Linked DNA regions of Homo sapiens: region 1 is linked to region 2. The links are contacts of gene promoters, found by promoter capture Hi-C in human tissues and cell types (Jung and others, 2019). All regions are on one chromosome and are shown on one strand. Each heading gives the region's core, a stretch centred on a gene start or on the middle of the fragment in contact. The rest is flanking DNA. Distances are from core to core; before and after follow the strand shown.

Evidence for each region. Contacts are between HindIII fragments. The study calls those that stand out against the background at their distance.
Region 1: a contact is called between a fragment that was not itself captured here and the fragment with the promoter of FAM149A in region 2, in 4 of the 25 tissues and cell types used here (bladder, dorsolateral prefrontal cortex, ovary and 1 more).

What each region holds. Positions count from the first base shown.
Region 1 is chr4:185,640,129-185,645,479 of GRCh38, reverse strand. All of the region lies in intron 13 of SORBS2 (sorbin and SH3 domain containing 2), which reads left to right. Among named protein-coding and RNA genes, the nearest start is that of SORBS2-AS1, 55 kb to the right of the region's middle. The HindIII fragment of the contact is 5,438 bases long and covers 1-4,215 here.
Region 2 is chr4:186,103,454-186,108,935 of GRCh38, reverse strand. It overlaps FAM149A (family with sequence similarity 149 member A), which reads right to left and starts at 4,232. Exons shown (of 14, transcript NM_001395294.1): 1 at 3,294-4,232. The coding sequence starts at 3,859. It overlaps LOC124900171 (a long non-coding RNA gene), which reads right to left and starts at 1,242. Exons shown (of 2, transcript XR_007058421.1): 1 at 1,201-1,242. RefSeq lists a silencer at 4,253-4,312. The HindIII fragment of the contact is 14,554 bases long and covers 299-5,482 here.

The DNA of each region.
Region 1 (5,351 bases), core at 247-2,746, 460 kb after region 2:
TAAGCCTTCTTACCCTTTCTTTAAATAACTCATATCTTTTAGAGTAACAGGACTACAAAAGAAAAACTGAAAGAAAAAAAAAATCACTGATTTGCAGGCACCATTGCAAACTTGTAACCCATTTACTAGTTTCTGTGATTGAGTATCATGCTACTCTGAAATTTCCAGAATGAGAATTGAGTGAAACACAATGTCATCATTGCAGAAAATTGAAAACAGTGAAATAATATATCTCAGATTTAAATTAAATAACAAAATTTTAATGATCTTTCTAGTAATTTATGAGACTCTTAGGATAACGAACATGGTAATGGTATTGGAATGCTTTGGTAGCCGTGGTGTCAGGAAACAGGATTGGTTTTAGACGCTCTCCCACCACGATGTTTCTATTATTTAGTCATTCAGTAAAACTGACTGAGCACCAGCTACATGCCAGGCTTTATGTGAGGTGCACAGCGGGGAACAGGACACACTCTCTACCTTGAGGAACTTCAAGTCTATCATTTAATATCTATGCAAGACTAGATCTGAGTTTGTGCAAAGTAAACAGCCTCTTATATGGTTAAAACAGACGCACACCTAAAAAACCCTCCCTTTGCTCCCTTTAGGGTTTATACATTGACCCTATCATTGTTATTGAAATTGTCACATTACTCTTGTCTTTGGGTTAAAAAAGACTTTAAAGACTCCTCGTTTTACAATAGCAATAATAATAGCAATAGCAATCATTGTAAATCTTTATTGAGCACTCACTATATGCCAGGCGCTGTAATTAGTAATTTATGCCTTATCTCATGTAAAGTTTCCAGCAGCCCTATTAAGCAGACACATGGCATTTCCATGTTACAGATGAAGAGACTGAAACACACATTAGCTCGCCTTGCCCCAGGGACACATGGTGGGAGCCAGAACTAGGAGTTGAGCCCAGGCATACTGATGCCTGGTGCACTTGGTCGCTGCTGTACAGCCACTCCAGGTGTGGCTGAGCAGGAAACACATTGAAGTAGCAGTTATTTGATTCCCTTATTTGATGATTTTGCAGTATAAATTAATTTATTTATTGGCTAATTTACAATAAAGTATACTTGATTTACTTTATCAGAAACTTAGGCCCTAAGTAGTTACCACACAGGACCAGTAGATGTGACTGGTTGTAAGACAGGAAACTCTGGAGCCATGAGTGTGACAGAGATTCGAGTGTGGATAGGTCTCTGCAGCCACAGGAGAAGATAAGTAGAAGGAACTTAGAAACTTGGAAGGAAGTGAGAATGGCTATCTTATGGAGAAATAGAAAGAACCAAAAATGTTAACCCTCCTAAACAATTTTGGAGAGGACCAGCCTTAAGCAGAATGGTTTGAGCTGGCCATATGGGACATGTTGGCCAGCCTTTCCAGTGTAGGACCAGCTCATCATCTTTTTAAAAAAATTAGTCCTGACTTCGTTTCAATTGCCTCTATAAATTAGAAAACAAAAAGAGCCAAGTGGGCCGTGGTGATGTAGAGACTGGCCGCGTACTGATATAGTTTACATAAGATTCTGAAGTGTTGAAAATACAGGCTAGAGGTTGAAGAGCAGGCGTGCTGAATGAGAGTGGCGTCGCAGCGATGGCCAGCGCTGAGGGGTATCAAGGTCTTATTCATGCATTCTCATGTCTTTTGACTCCAAGATGCCTTGGAAGCATTCCTTTGCTCTTTTCATTTTCAATTTTTGAAAAATATACACAACACCTGGGCAATTCTGTGTTGCTCTTTTGAATCTCTACATGGCCTCTCCATCTGCCCACTTTTCCAAAGGGTCATCTTGGGTTTTCCCCTCTCCTGCAGTGGACTCAGTGTCGCCTGCCAGGAGAAGTGCCACTGCTGCTCCTCTCTTCTGGCCCACAATTGTCCGTGCCTGGGCTACAGTGACAGCCACCTGATTCATTTCCCTACCTCTCCAGTCTAGTCTCCACACCACAGCGAAGGCAATCTTTAGAAAATCTTTATAAAACCTCCAGCTCAAAATTTTCTCTGGCTCTTCACTGTCCTTCGAGCAAAATCTGAAACCCTGAGCATAATTTATAGAAGACCTGTGACTGGGCTCCAGCTGACCTCTCCAGCCTCATCTCTCCTCCCACCCTCCCTGCCTCGCTAGGTTCCAGCTGCACAGAGAACTTTCAATTCCCGCATTGCTGGGCCTCTGTAAAGGCTGCACCTCCCCACCAGGAAAAGCTCTCCCCACCACCTCTTCCTTCACATGGAGAATTCTATCCCATCCTCCAGGTCCCAGCACAGTCCCACCTCCCCCAGGGAATGTGCCTGACTCCTCTGCATTAGGTTGGAGGCTCTCCCTGCTGTGTGCCCATGGCACACTGTGTTCCTCATGAGATCTTGAGCTTCTTGAAGGCGAGGGCTGTGACTGGTCCACCAGTTGTATCCCAACACCTGGGACGATGCCTGGCCTGTAGCAGGTGTTCAGTGAATATGCATTCGTGGAATTTCTAAGTGAATGAAGGAACACAGGTTTCACCCTTGCAGTCAGTGGAAAAAGTTGGTGAGGGACTGAATCCTTGTTCTGTTGTTTATCCATGAAGCCTATATATTTCTAGTGCAAAAGGCCCAGTGGGTCTCAAAACATTCTTGGAGGGGTTTGACACACTGCTATTAGTAGTGACTCATAATTCCACGATTCCCTGGGATACAGAGAAGGCAGGGGGGTAGTACTGTTTGAACAAAAATCTTCCCAAGACCCTGGCAAAGAGATCTTCCTTAGGAATCAGTGGCATATGCGTTTATGTTCTTTAACAGGGAAAGTAAAAGTGAGCGCACTTTTTTGAAGCTCATAAATACTCATGTGACTGTAAATTTAGAAATGTTAATTAATTGGGCCTAATGTTTGATCTGGAAAAGTACTTAGCAGTCACCAGGAATTTGCCTTGAACTGACTCGAACCACAAATCAGAACCGTATTTCCACAATTTAATTTTTCCATGAGACAATCATAAAAACTCTGCTGGGATTATATTACTAAAACCTTTATATCCCATTGCATTGGATATGTTTGTAGGTGAGTAATGTTAAATTTAAAAAAAAAAATTAATAAAGCATTTGTTTAGGACCTCTGTATGCTTGATAAAGTAAAAAAAAAATATATGAAAATGTTACCCTAACCTACAATAACTAAACTTGAACATAATGATAAAAGCAGAAGAAAATAGTCATTGAAAACACTGTAGCAGAGTTGAAATGCAACTTAAACCCTTAATGAACTTAAGCTTCTTTATCAATAAAGATTGTCAGTCAATACTTAACTATAAAAATTTAAGGAGTTTCATCTGATGACCATTAAGAATTATCCCAACTAATAATGTATATAGCATTTATTGTGAAACCACAATAAATATAAAACACGGTAGTCAATGTCATTAAAACTTAAAATGGAATGAGCGTAATTTGAAAAACAAAATAGCCCTGGCACTTCTTTTTGTTTAGAACAACGTATAGAAAGCACATGCCTCACTGAGAATACTTAGTGGAATCTCGATAACCACAAAAGCAATTAAATGCTTTTAAATTATAGAAAACACTAAAATTTTTAAAGTTGTTCACCCTTGGTAGCTTTTAAGTAAGGATCACTTGTGATTTATAGTTGTAGCTTTTCTTGAACACGTCCTCTTGCACTGATGACTAACAAAGTTAGTTTTAAACGGAGGTTTGCTGGTGGGTTTTTTTTTTTTTTTAATGAAAAGAAACAACAACAAAAAAATCACACCAAGGCTAGAAAGATGCATATCAGTATCTTTGCTCTTTTGCCTTTTATGAGCAATTAGAGTAAACCATAATCATACCTCCTAAATGAGTTTCTGAGTGTTAATATTAGTGCTGTACTCAAAGGAATGTCCATGTTCCACATGGAAAGTGTTAAATTACTGAGATTAGTGATTTGTGTGTATATCCATCTGTTGACTGACCATCTGTATGTGTGTCACTGACTGTTGCGAGGCTTCTGTGTTCCTTAGCAGTGCCTCCAGGTCACCATAGGACATTTAATTATTGCATGACTTAAAAGATTCAATACGGCAACCACAGCAAAGAGAAAATTCTAGTTCTGCCACTAACACTTCCTTTAACACAACTCTGCTCAAACATGTGCCTTTCATTGCATTCCAAAGTTATCGATAATTACCAGCTATCATTGTTTTGGGTGTTTTCTCTGCTAATTTCTATTGGCATGCATTCTAGATAGTTGCCCATTGTAACTATAAATTGACTATTTAAATAAACAAAAGCATAATTCATGGAAAACTGCCATTCTAAGGTATGATGCAAGATGGTAGATATTCTGCTTCCTTTTCCATATTCTATCATAGAGATGCATTACTATAAATCAGGACTTGGTATATCCATTTGTTACATATTTTCTTAATGTGGGAGTCAAAGTGAAGCTACATAGCTAACAAGTCTTATTCATTTAGTAAGTTGGCTGCCCTCTGCTGTTCATAATGTTTCTTAAACAGATTCGTTTCCTCTAAGAGAAGTTTCTATCTCCCCTTGGCAAAACAAAATACTATTCTTGAAAACAGAAGTTATAATAATTAATGATATCATTCAGTGTGTAACATTAGAAACTATGAAGTTTAAAAGAGTCAGAGGTTAGTTTTCCTGTAGAAGAAATAGTATGTCTCTCTAAACAGAAGAGAAATTACTGGAAATTCTCTCTCCTGTCAGTTACCCTAAAAACCAGCTCCAGCAAAGCCATTTCACGAACAATTATGCATCTATAATGATCTAAATAATAATTGGAGAAAAATAGTATTTTATGGACATTAAAATCTCAATTAATACTATTGCAACTATTGAATCAAATATAAATTGAATTAAATTTTTAAATTCAACAGAAAATAGCAAATTGGTTACTAGAATATTTTGTCTCTACCAATTTCACTATTACTTCTGAGGTGTAAACCAAATATAATACTGGCATAAAGAAGGAAAAATATCTCAAGATTTCTAGGCATTTTCCTATGTCTAATAGTAGGATGTTCTCTCTGAATTTATTTATTACAAAAATAACATTACAACAATAAAGCAAAATAATATTTAAAAGAAAGAAAAAACAAACAGTCGCAATACCAGAACACCATTGTAGTCGTTTGTGTATGTGTGACTTCTTTACTGTGTTCATGCAGAGACAAGCTTTGTAATACCTTTGTAACTACTGTACAGGTGCGTGGTTAGATTCCGTTTTGACTGCTTGGTATCTCATTGTAAGCATTTCCCAGGGACACTACACAGTCTTTATAATTATGATCACTACATCTTTTGGATAACTTAGGCTTTTGCACTATTTTGTCACGATGCCTCAAACTTTT
Region 2 (5,482 bases), core at 2,983-5,482:
GCGGAGCTTGCAGTGAGCCGAGATCGCGCCACTGCACTCCAGCCTGGGCGACAGAGCAAGACTCCGTCTCAAAAAAAAAAAAAAACCAGAGATTGAGAATAAGACCTTTACAAGGTGTATTGTGTGGTTCAAACCAGAAGTATGAAAAGAGGTAATGAAGAGGGATGAGTGAGACTGAAAAACACTGAGGCATAATATATACATGAAATGGACAGGGAAGCCAAGGTGAAGATCAAAGGTGTTGGATCACGTATCCAGGGATGCAGGAAAGTGAGGTGAAGACAGAGAGATCAGTATCCTCTGCCTCTGGCTCAGATGTGCAGTCAGTACGCCCTGTGGAGCAAAAGGGGCAGCCTCTGTTCCATGGGCCTTTCACTTACGGAATTCTTGGGTCAGAGATTAAAAACCCCTGCTGCTATTCAGCATCTTTGCTTGGAAAAAAGCCTCTAAATTGCAGGAGAGTTTGCATATTTTCCTACTCAAGTTAATTTCACTACTTTTAGTTTTTTGTTTTTTTTTTTTAAAGCCAAGTACAGAATCAGGCAAATGTAAAATGTATGCGTTATTGTCAAAAAAGTACAAACTGCTAATAGGGTTTTCCTTTAGAACTCAGGGCCACAGCTTTAAAATTAGATCCGCATTTCTTGCAGACAGGTTTACGGTTTCCTTTATATGTATTCACATTCTCATCACTCTTTAAACTTTTTCTCTGACATTACCCATTTCTCCCTTTCCAAGTTTCCAGGCTTTTGAAATTTAAATTCCTGATTTTAATATTAACCACACAGGCTAACAGCAGCAGCTATCTGCCAAGTGACAGATGAGATGGTAGGAGCAAATTTAAATTCATTGTCTTATGTTTGTTTATTCGGTGTTATAAATCACTACCACAGAAATCCAGGAGGGAAAAAGAATCCTTCAAGGTGCAAAGTCTGCAGTATTGAAAGAAAAGCCGTCTTAATACTTTCTTCCTTCCCCTTTGTCTCTTATGTTTTAGTGATTGAAAAAGGAGTGGGGTATGATGAGAGGAAGGGAATGTGAGTAGTCGTGGATCTGAAAGGAAAAATGGTATGCTCAGAGGGCCAGTCTGCTTCCTGCCTGTGTGTGCCTCTACCTGCTGCTGCAGACAGTAGGAACACACAAACTCAGGAGGATTCTGCAAAGCACCTAGCTGTGTATATTACTTCTCATGGCACTTACCTAAAATTCAATTTCATGGCCAGATGCAGTGGCTCATGCCTGTAATCCCAGCAATGCCCAGGTGGGAAGATTGCTTGAGGCCAGGAGTTCAAGACCAGCCTGGGCAACATAGGGAGACCCCGTCTCCACAGAAACATTTTTAAAATTGGCCAGGCATAGTAGCTCACACCTGTAGTCCCAGCTACTCGAGAGTCTGAGACGGGAGAATCAGATCGCTTGAGCCTGGGAGGTTGAGGCTGCAATGAACAGTGATCATACCACTGCACTCCAACCTGGGTGACAGAAGGAGACCTCATCTCAAAAAGTAATAATAATTTAAAAATTCAATTTCTTCACTGTCCATAAAATTGAATGCATTTGTTAATTCAGAATAATCTCTTATGTAAATAATGCCAAATGCAGTGTTATTCAAAAAGTATCTATTCCAAATATTTGCACAATATAAACATGAGCTAATATGTTCAAGAATTGAAACTAACACCAGTTTCACTGGCCATGCTGCATATTTCAGTGCCTATTTGTTAAAAGCACTAAGACTAGAGTTTAAGGTCAGTGTGTAGATCTGTTTGCTCATAAAACATTAATTGCATAAATGTTAAGGACCAGTTGCCAATAACAAAGATCTAATTCCTCAGGCATATGTATTCCAGTGAGTTTTCCAAAAGCAATTAACTGATAGGGAAAACTATCAGTTGATAAACATATGTCATAATATAGTATTTTTTAATGAGTGGGAACAACTTTTTGCTTAACTGCTTATTTTCTTTTTTGTTGTTGTTTTTTTGAGACGGAGTCTCTCTCTCTGTCGCCCAGGTTGGAGCGCAATGGTGCGATCTTGGCTCACTGCAAGCTCCGCCTCCCGGGTTCACGCCATCATCCTCTTGCCTCAGCCTTCCGAGTAGCTGGGACTACAGGCACGTACCACCACGCCCGGCTAATTTTTTGTATTTTTAGTAGAGACGGGGTTTCATCGTGTTAGCCAGGATGGTCTCGATCTCCTGACCTCATGATCCGCCCGCCTCGGCCTCCCAAAGTGCTGGGATTACAGGCGTGAGCCACCGTGCCCGGCCGCTTGTTTTCATATTGACATGAATATCATTCAATTTTGTGAAACTGTAATTATTTAAATTGTGAGTGAGTCAGGATCAGTATGAATGCAAAAATTACTCAGGATTTTTTGGAGGGAGTAGGGAATGGCCTCACTAGATTACAATGCAGAAACCTCAGTCTGTGAATTGGCTCATCTGTCTTTGACCATTTCACTATTTCTTTGCAGCATTCAGGATGAAAATTTACCCACTCAAGAATAGCTAACGATATGCTCCACTCTAAAAATTAAAATTCATCCTAGTTCTAAAACACATTTTAAAAGAGCAATGTTTTTATCACGACTCTTGGAAGTGAAAGGGGTGTTGTGTGGGTGTGTGTGTGTTGAGGGAATCGGCCTCCGATTCCCAGTGAAAATGTTCCCATGAAGTCAACGTTTCTGCAGTGACTCAGGGCACTGTGGAAAGCTCTCAGGAGCTCTAGGGTAATAATCAGACGTGTCCTGGCCATTACAACTCCATTTGTGTCAGATGATGTCATGCATATGTAAATTAACTAGATGTCACACAAAGGAGACCCATCCCACTTAGGATAAGACTAGGGACTGGTCCTTAGACATTAGGAAAGCACCAGGTCTCACCACTTCTTAAAACACTTGCTGCAGACGTGTGTATTCGGTTTCCCTGCACACCTGCTATATTCTGAGACAAAGAAAGGGACTTCAAAAAGTCCTTAAGAAAACCAAACAAACACTCTAAGTAGCAATGCTTCTGGTAGAAGAGAAACAAAATTCTGTCCCTTCCTTCAAGGCCCCTTAGGATTCACTCTGAGAAAGCTGGACAAAGCATGTCACAGCTTATGTCTGAAAGCCCGCAAAGCCAAGGAGTAAAAACCCAGGAAACGTGCAAGGAGGGTGCCCAGGGGGTTATGAAAGTTACTACAAATATTTCATTTCCTGAAGTGCACCTGCGAAGGTGAGTGCGGCAGGCGGAGGGGTCGGGGGTCCCGGCAAAAGGTACACGCGCCCGGACCACGCTGCTACTCACGCTTCGCCATCCCCGGAGTCGCCGTCCGAGGCCCCCTCCTCGCCGATGTCAGGCAGCGTAAGGAACAGGGTTCTGGGGCCAGCCCCGGGGGCCACGCAGGCGCCGAGCTCTCGCTCTCCGGGGCCAGGCTGGAGCGGGTTCCTGGGGAGCGCGGCCCAGACCCCGCCGGGGCCCGAGGGCGGCCGCGCTGGGACCACCAGGCGAGCAGGGGAGCAGCCCCCGCCGGAGGGAGTGGGGGGCTGGGGCGGGGCTTTACCCGCTCTAGGGCTACTGGGCCAAGAGAGCAGGGTCCCCACTGCTCCCGCGGCGCGGCTGGCGGCGGAGCCCCGGGAGTAGGGGGAGGAGAGCAGCGGGGCGGGCGACCGCCGCGAGGCGGAGGGGGAGTCCGGAGCCAGGGCGCGGAGGAGGGTCGGGGCGGTACCCAACGGGGTGCCCGCCCTGGAGCCCCCCGACCCTGCAGCGGCAGCACCTCCCGAGGGTCTGGAGGAGGGGCCTGCGGGGGGCGCCGTCGAGGTCTCGAAGAGTTTGGCCAAGAGAGACCCAAGGTCCAGCACAGCAGCCTTCATGCCTCGACAGTGGACACGCCGTCCTCGCCGCCGCCCGAGAGTTCAGACCGCGGAGATCCGGCCGAGGCGGCCCGGGCCGGGGCGAGGAGCCTGAGGTCCCCGCACCCGGAGCCCCGGAGGCCCCTGGCTCCCTCTCCTCCCCGAGGACGCTCAGCTCCGCGCCGCTGGGGTCGCCCTTCCCCGGCCCGGGTCCGTCCGCCGAGCGCCCCGGCTGCGGAGAGCAGCCCCGCCTCGTCCCAGCGCCGTGAGACCCCCGAGGGCCGAAGGGCCAGGAGCCCCGGGAAGCGCGGCCGCCGCCCGCCCCAGACGCCCGCCGCCCGCCGCCCGCCGCCCGCGGTTGCTACGTTCAACACACCCGGCCGCGCTCCAGGCTAATTGGGCCCCAGGTGCGGCTCGGGCTGTGCCCGCGGGGGACGTCCCACTCCCCGCCTGGTTCCGCCTTAAAGGAACACGCCCCCATTTCCCCTGCGCCCCGAGCCTCGCAGATCCCATCCGCCGAGCTCAGGGCCCAGGGCTGGGAAAGAGAATCCTGGCTCCAGAAGGTTCTGGAACTTACCCAGCCTGACAAGCTTGCACGTGCTGGGGTCAGGCCACCTCTCTGACGATAGGGAAGGTGGGTAGAAAGATGTATTTGGGCGAACGAGCTTGAAACAGCAGCATCCACTCCCCCACCCCAGGGTCCTACTCAAACCCTGTTACTAAGGGTGGGGTGGGAGCAACCGCGAGGTGCGCCACCCACTAACCTGCAAACAAGACCGGCTCTGAGAGCTGAAGTAGAAAGACCTACGCACACCTGTTTAAACACCTGTCGGAGTGAACCAAGAGACTGTGTAATTCAAATGTTTGAGAACTCAAATTATAATCGGAACGACTACAAATTCAAAGACAGATATGGAAGGCAACGTTTTCTATTCAGTGGAATAAATTGTATTTTGCTTAATCTGAAAAATATGTGTGAAAGGTAGAGCGTATAGGTGCGAGCATCTAAAGGGGTGTGGGGTCAGTGTTGAACAGAGTTAAAAAATAAGATACTGCAGCCAGGCTCGGTGGCTCATACCTGTAATCCCAGCACCGGGATTGGGAGGTGGGAGGATGGCTTGAGCCCAGGAGTTCCAGGCCAGCCTGGGCAACAACATAGGGAGACCCCATCTCTACAAATATTTAAAAAAAAAAAAAATGCCGGGCCTGGTGGCGCATGCCTGTAGTCCCAGGTACTCGGGAGGCTGAGGTGATCGCTTGGGCCTGGAGTGAGCCGTGATCGCACCACTGCATTCCAGCCTGGGCAGTAGAGTGAGACCCTGTGTCAAAAAAATAGTAATGAGATATTGATGGAGTTTGTCCATTAATATTCAGGAGAGGATCTCAGGAGATACATTTCCTGATGTGGGGTAGGGAAAAGAGATGAATTAAGTCTGGCAGTGAATAAACTGACATTCATGCTTATATACTTGAATCTTTTGTAAGTTATCAAACTGGAGTCTGAGCCACGGTAAACTTCCAGGTAATGCTAAGTTTTGCGTTATTTGGAGGCAGTTAACAAGTCTTCTGTCATGATCCCTTTTCTACATCTAACTGCCACCAACATGTACTGGGCACTTGTCTGCTTCAAGATTGCATTAAGCA